Regions from separate parts of the Homo sapiens genome. Here region 2 is linked to region 1. The links are contacts of gene promoters, found by promoter capture Hi-C in blood cells and fetal thymus (Javierre and others, 2016). All regions are on one chromosome and are shown on one strand. The core of a region is centred on a gene start or on the middle of the fragment in contact, and the rest is flanking DNA. Distances in the headings are between cores, read along the strand shown.

Evidence for each region. The method cuts DNA at HindIII sites, captures the fragments that hold promoters and counts their contacts. A CHiCAGO score of 5 or more calls a contact.
Region 2: a contact is called between the fragment with the promoter of SBK2 here and the fragment with the promoter of NCR1 in region 1, in 1 of 17 cell types (fetal thymus). The highest score is 5.4, in fetal thymus.

Annotation. Positions count from the first base shown.
Region 1 is chr19:54,904,812-54,907,835 of GRCh38, reverse strand. NCR1 (natural cytotoxicity triggering receptor 1) reads right to left here and starts at 1,688. Exons shown (of 7, transcript NM_004829.7): 1 at 1,615-1,688; 2 at 1,502-1,537; 3 at 1,029-1,313. The coding sequence starts at 1,648. The HindIII fragment of the contact is 17,616 bases long and covers 1-3,024 here.
Region 2 is chr19:55,535,361-55,538,411 of GRCh38, reverse strand. SBK2 (SH3 domain binding kinase family member 2) reads left to right here and starts at 1,279. Exons shown (of 4, transcript NM_001370096.2): 1 at 1,279-1,358; 2 at 2,116-2,370. The coding sequence starts at 2,118. RefSeq lists a silencer at 376-670. The HindIII fragment of the contact is 39,425 bases long and covers 1-3,051 here.

The DNA.
Region 1 (3,024 bases), core at 439-2,938:
CAAAATATAAGCAACCCAATTTAAAAATAGGCAAAAGATTTAAATAGACATTTCACAAAAGAAGATATTTGAATGGACATGAAATACTGTTGTGAGCTGCATAATGACATTTTGGCCAACAATGTACCACATATATGATGGTGGTCCCATAAGATTATAATGAAACTGAAAAATTCCTATTGCCTGATGACATCATAGCCTTCCTAGCACAAAGTATTGCTCATGTGTTTTTGGTGTTGCTGGTATAAACAAACCTAATTGTATAGCACATACAATTATGTATGTATATGTAACTATGTATAATACTTGATAATAATAATAAACAACCATATTGTTAAAAAAAAAAAAAAGCTAATTTTTTTTTTTTTTTAGAAAACCACCACCTGGCTGGGTGTGATGGCTCACACCTGTAATCCCAGCACTTTGGGAGGGTGAGGCGGGCGGATCATCTGAGGTCAGGAGTTCGACACCACCCTGGCCAACATGGTGAAACCCCATCTCTACTAAAAATACAAAATGTGGCGTAGTGGTGGGTGCCTGTGATCCCAGCTACTTGGGAAGCTGAGGCTGGAGAATCACTTGAACCCAGGAGGTGGAGGTTGCAGTGACTGGAGATTGCACCACTGCACTCCAGCCTGGGTGACAAGAGCGAAACTCCGTCTCAAAACAGATAAAAAAAAAAAAAACCCACCACCTGTGATGGGTGAGGGAAGCAAAGTGTAAGCCACTGCGCCTGGCCCACAGGCATTGTTTTTGAGGACATTCCTCAGTCATACCCCTGCATACAAATATCTATCTCAGAATCTGTGTCATGGAGAAACTGACTGAGGACACATCTGCTCCTAGGACGTAGAGACACGGTCTGCAGACAACCCCTTGTAGGCAAGGATTGTGATGGGGATCACCCCTCCTTCCAGCCTCCTACCGAGACAAGCAGTGTCTGAGTGGGGCTTGGAAGAGTTCATAGATGATGCTGCATCCCGGATGCAGACTGAGATCACTCTCCAGTTAGAGAACCGGACAGTTACCTGTTACCACCAGATCCAGCAAGTTGCTGGGCTCTGACCAGAGCTCCCCAACCCGATAGATGCAGCTGTATTGCCCTGCCATGCGGGAGTTCATGTCCGGGATGTAGAATTGGACTTTGTTAATCCGCTCAGGGGGTTTTGGTCTGTCCACGGCAAAAAGGCTTCCTTCAAAGTGCAGCTGGTATTCAACAGCCCCATAATTTCCCTGGCAACAGATGGTCACTTGCTTTTCCTTTGGAACCATGAAATGGGGCTCGGCCCAGATGAACGGTTTTGGGAGAGTCTCTGGAAGGGAATCAGAGGCTGGAGTTCCAGCGGAGCCCCCTCCCCCCAACCTTAGGCTCCACCCAGCTGCTGGCCCCAAGCTCTCCTGGGAAGCCAGCACCCTGTCCCCTCACCCCAGCCGTGCTTGGGTGGAAGGAGCTTGGCCTGAATCCGGAAGAGTGACCCTGGGCTTTGAAGGAAGGACTCACGCTGCTGGGCGCTGATCCTCTGACTCAGACACAGCCCTGGAAGACGGGAGTAATGAGACCTGTTGCCTCCCAGGCACACCGTGATCCCATTCCCCTTCCACGCCAGAACTCACCGACGCAGAGCAGGGCAGGGAGTGTGGAAGACATCGCTCAGATTCTGCCGGCCTAGTGCTGAGCAGTGGGGACTGAGCCGGGCGGGCCAGGGAGATAGATACACAGGAAGTGGTGGGTGAGCACCAGCGCCCATCACCAGAGCGCTTTCACGTTGACTGCTTTCATCAGAACGTTCACAACTCCCCTCCGCCTCTGACCATGAGCTTACAGAAAGGCCGTGGTCCCTCTGACACATCTGTGGTCTAGCCAGCAACTCTGACAATTGTCTGCTCAGCCCAAAATGCATTTCTGGGTCAACTTCTCAATTCTGCAATGTGGAGGTCGTACCCAGAGCTGACTGTGGGAAGTTGTGCCCAATCATGCCCAGAGGAAACCCCCTGAGAATCGTATAAAAACATAGGGAGTTTCACAGTGAGATACTGGAACAGGAATTAAAAGAAATTACAGAATGTGTAAACAAAAACTCAGTTGTATTTAAGAAAACCCAGTTCCCCCCGAGGAAGAGAAAGAGGTGGAGTCCTTTAAACATGAACTGCCTGTTTTTCTGTCTGTGGCTAGTGAGCCTTATCTCTCCCTTTCCCAGGCATTGTGAAGACCCTGTTTCTCTTGCCGTGCGGCTGCAAGGTCACTAGACAGGATAACCTCAAGTCGTAAAACATATTTTTCTTGAAAAGTAAGGAATAATGTGATGCATGTCTCAATTGAATAACTGCCTTTGTTTCTTGCTTCTGTAATATGCTTCCCCCTGCACAGATCTCCCCCAACCCCACAAAATGCTTAAAAGGTAACCGGACTCTCTGTTCGAGCCTCAGTCTTTTTGGATGTTAATCTGACTGGGGCCGGTGCACCTAAATAATAATAATAATAATAAATCCTCCTCAACCCCTCGGTCTCTCTGATTCCTAAATTATCCCTCAACAATACCATCTCACACCAGTCAGAATGGCCATTACTGAAAAGCCAGAAATTAACAGATGCTGGTGAGATTGTGGAGCAAAGGGGACACTTATACACTGTTGGTGGGTGTAAATTAGTTCAGCCACTGTGGAAAGCAGTTTGGTTTGGAGATATTTCAGAGAACTACAAACAGAGTTACCATTCAGCCCAGCAATCCCATCGCTGGGTATATAGCCAAAGGAAAATAAATCATTCTACCAAAAAGACACATGCACTTGTATGTTCATTGCAGCAGGATTCACAATAGTGAAGACATGGAATCCACCCAGGTCCCATCAGAGGTGGACTGGATAAAGACAATGTGATATGTATACACCACAGAACGCTATACAGCCTTGAAAAATCACAAGATTATGTCCTTTGCAGCAACATGGATGCAGCTAGAGGCCATTATCCTAAGCGAGTTAACACAGAAACAGAAAACCAAATACTGGCCAGACACGGTGGCTCAG
Region 2 (3,051 bases), core at 30-2,529, 630 kb before region 1:
TTGGGGACTTCCTAGTGGGGCTTAATCTCCCTGTGCTTACAGCAGGGAGGCACTCACTGGCCTGTATTCCTGTTATGCGCTTTCAAACTATTTTTATTGTTATTCCTCTCTTTGGAATCAGGAGCCCTCAGGCCCTCCTCCCTCAGACCCAGGAGTCCAGGTCCTCAACCCCCTCCTCCCTCAGGCCCAGGAGTCCAGGTCCTCAACCCCCTCCACCCTCAGGCCCAGGAGTCCGGGTCCTCAACCCCCTCCTCCCTCAGACCTAGGAGTCCAGGTCCTCAACCCCCTCCTCCATCAGGCCCAGGAGTCCGGGTCCCGTGTAGAAAATGAAATCATTTCTGGAACCCACCCCTGCCTTGACCCCACCCAGCTGCCCCATCAATGCCCCATTGACAGGTCAGACACAAGTGCTTGGAGAGGGGTGTCCAGGGGATCAGATGCTGGGGTCTAGTTTGGGGAAAGAATGAGACAATGAGATTCCAGAACGATGCAGTGTGGGATGACCTCAGACTCAGAGGGGCGGGAAGCAGGTGCTGGAGCAACTGGGAAGAGAGGCCTTGAGGGGGTGGGGAGGCCTCAGTTCTGCCGGAAAACTTCAGATGGGTGGGGGAGGCTGAGGCCTGGACTCCTGGGTCTGAGGGAGGAGGGACTGGGGCCTGGACTCCTGGGTCTGAGGGAGGAGGGGCTGGGGCCTGGACTCCTGGGTCTGAGGGAGGAGGGGCTGGGGGTCTGGACTCCTAGGTCTGAGGGAGGAGGGGCTGGAGACCTGAATTCCTGGGTCTGAGGGAGGAGGGGCTGGAGACCTAGACTCCTGGGTCTGAGGGAGGAGGGGCTGGGGTCTAGACTCCTGGGTCTGAGGGAGGAGGCACTGGGGGACTGGATTCCTGGGTCTGAGGGAGGGAAAGCTGGGGGCCTGGATTCCTGGGTCTGAGGGAAGAAGAGCTGGGGGCCTGGACTCCTGGGTCTGAGGGAGGAGGGGCTGGGGCCTGGACTCCTGGGTCTGAGGGAGGAGGCACTGGGAGACTGGATTCCTGGGTCTGAGGGAGGAGGCGCTGGGGGCCTGGACTCCTGAGTCTGAGGGAGGAGGAGGGGCTGGGGCCTGGACTCCTGGGTCTGAAGGAGGAGGGCTCAACTCTTGGGTCAGGGTATTCACCTGACCACAGCCAGTTCCAGGAGTCATCACACGATGTCGCTCTGCTCCCAGTGGGGGCAGAAGGGGCGGGCCCAGGGGCGGGGCCTTACGACCCCCAAAGTCGGGGCGGGGTCTTGCTCCTAGGCAGGCCTCTGCTGGCATGAGCCCTAAGTGCCGGGCACTGACCACAGCCGGCGGCCGGAGGGTCAGGAGGGCCTTGGAGGAGGTGAGGTCTGGAGGTCTGAGCCCAGGTTGGGAGGTGGGCAAGGTGCCCTGGCCTGAGGTGGGCAGCACCTGAGGGTGACTGTACCAGGTGGCCCGAGTCCTCGGTCCCTCAGGGGAGCCTGGGCTGCACCTGGAGGCTGTAGAGCGGTGGAGGGTGAGGGAAACAGAATCAGGGGGTCCCCAGTTGTGTGAATTGTATGAGGTTCCGGGAGAGAGGTGGGCTGGGGGCCTGGACCCCTGGGCCTGGCGGAGGAGGGGCTGGGGGGCTGGGTCGGAGGGAGGTGGGTGGGCTGTGAAAGTGGGACCCCAGGCCTGTCAGGAGCTTGGGGACTGATCCCAAGTGCTCGGTCCCATGCAGGACCCAGGCGTCCCAGGCCCTCTGCACAGCCCGCCCTCCCAGCCCTGAGCCCAAGAGCACCTGTTTGTTCTCAGGAGACAGAGTCTACTCATCCACCCCCAGGGCCCAAGTCTGTTTGCTTTGGAAACAAGATGGGGGAGTCTCAGTTATCTGGTTCATCTTTCAACCTCAGGGTGGGCGGGTGGCGGCGGCGGCACGCGGGCAGGGACATCTGTGACCTGGGGCTTGAACTCACACCAGACTTGTCTCCCCACCTCTCACCAAGAGGGAGACTGAGTCACAATGAGAAGCGCGATGAGCCCCCAGCCCCTCCTCCCTCAGACCCAGGAGTCCAGACCCCCAGTCCCCTCCTCCCTTGGGCCTGGGACCTGAGCCTGGGCACCCCTCTCTGTTCTCGCAGAGATGCCCGGCAAACAGTCTGAGGAAGGGCCGGCGGAGGCAGGGGCTTCGGAGGACAGCGAGGAGGAGGGTCTGGGCGGCCTGACATTAGAGGAGCTCCAGCAGGGCCAGGAGGCTGCCCGCGCGCTGGAGGACATGATGACGCTGAGTGCTCAGACCCTGGTCCGAGCCGAGGTGGACGAGCTCTACGAGGAAGTGCGTCCCCTGGGCCAGGGTTGCTATGGCCGCGTCCTTCTGGTCACCCATCGTCAGAAAGGTACGAGGCTGTGGGGCCAGAGGTGGCAGGGTTCAGCTGGGGGCGGGGCACGGGCCTGGGGTAGCCCAGGCTGGGGAGGCTGGCAGGCCTGAATCAAGTCTTACCTCTGCCCTCCAAAGCTGTGTGTTTTTTGTTTTTTGTTCTTTTGGTTGGTTGGTTGTTTTTGAGACAGTCTGGCTCTGCCGCCCAGGCTGGAGTGCAGTGGCACAATCTCACTGCAACTTCCACCTCCCAGGTTCAAGTGTTCCTCCTGCCTCAGCCTCCCATGTAGCTAGGACTATAGGCATGCACTACCACACCCAGCTACATTTGTGTGTGTGTGTATTTTTCTTTCTTAGTAGAGATGAGGTTTCACTCTGTTGGCCAGGGTGGTCTCGTACTCCTGGCCTCCAGTGATCCGCCTGCCTCAGCCTCCCAATTGCTGGGATTACAGGCATGAGCCACGGTGCCCTGCCAAAAACTGTGTTTTGAGGAACTCCCTTGCCCTCTCTGAGTCTCAGCTTCCTCCTTTGGAAAATGTGGGTGATGATTTCTACTTGGAAGAATGGTGGATCCTCTGAGTGAATGTGGACTGCTCTAGTTGCTGGGGTTGTATAATGCTGGGTAAGACAGAGCTCCCAGCTCAGGAGCCTCCTGTGGCGGCTGTAGTGGTCACCGTGGGATGATGCAGAGTGATGCTGT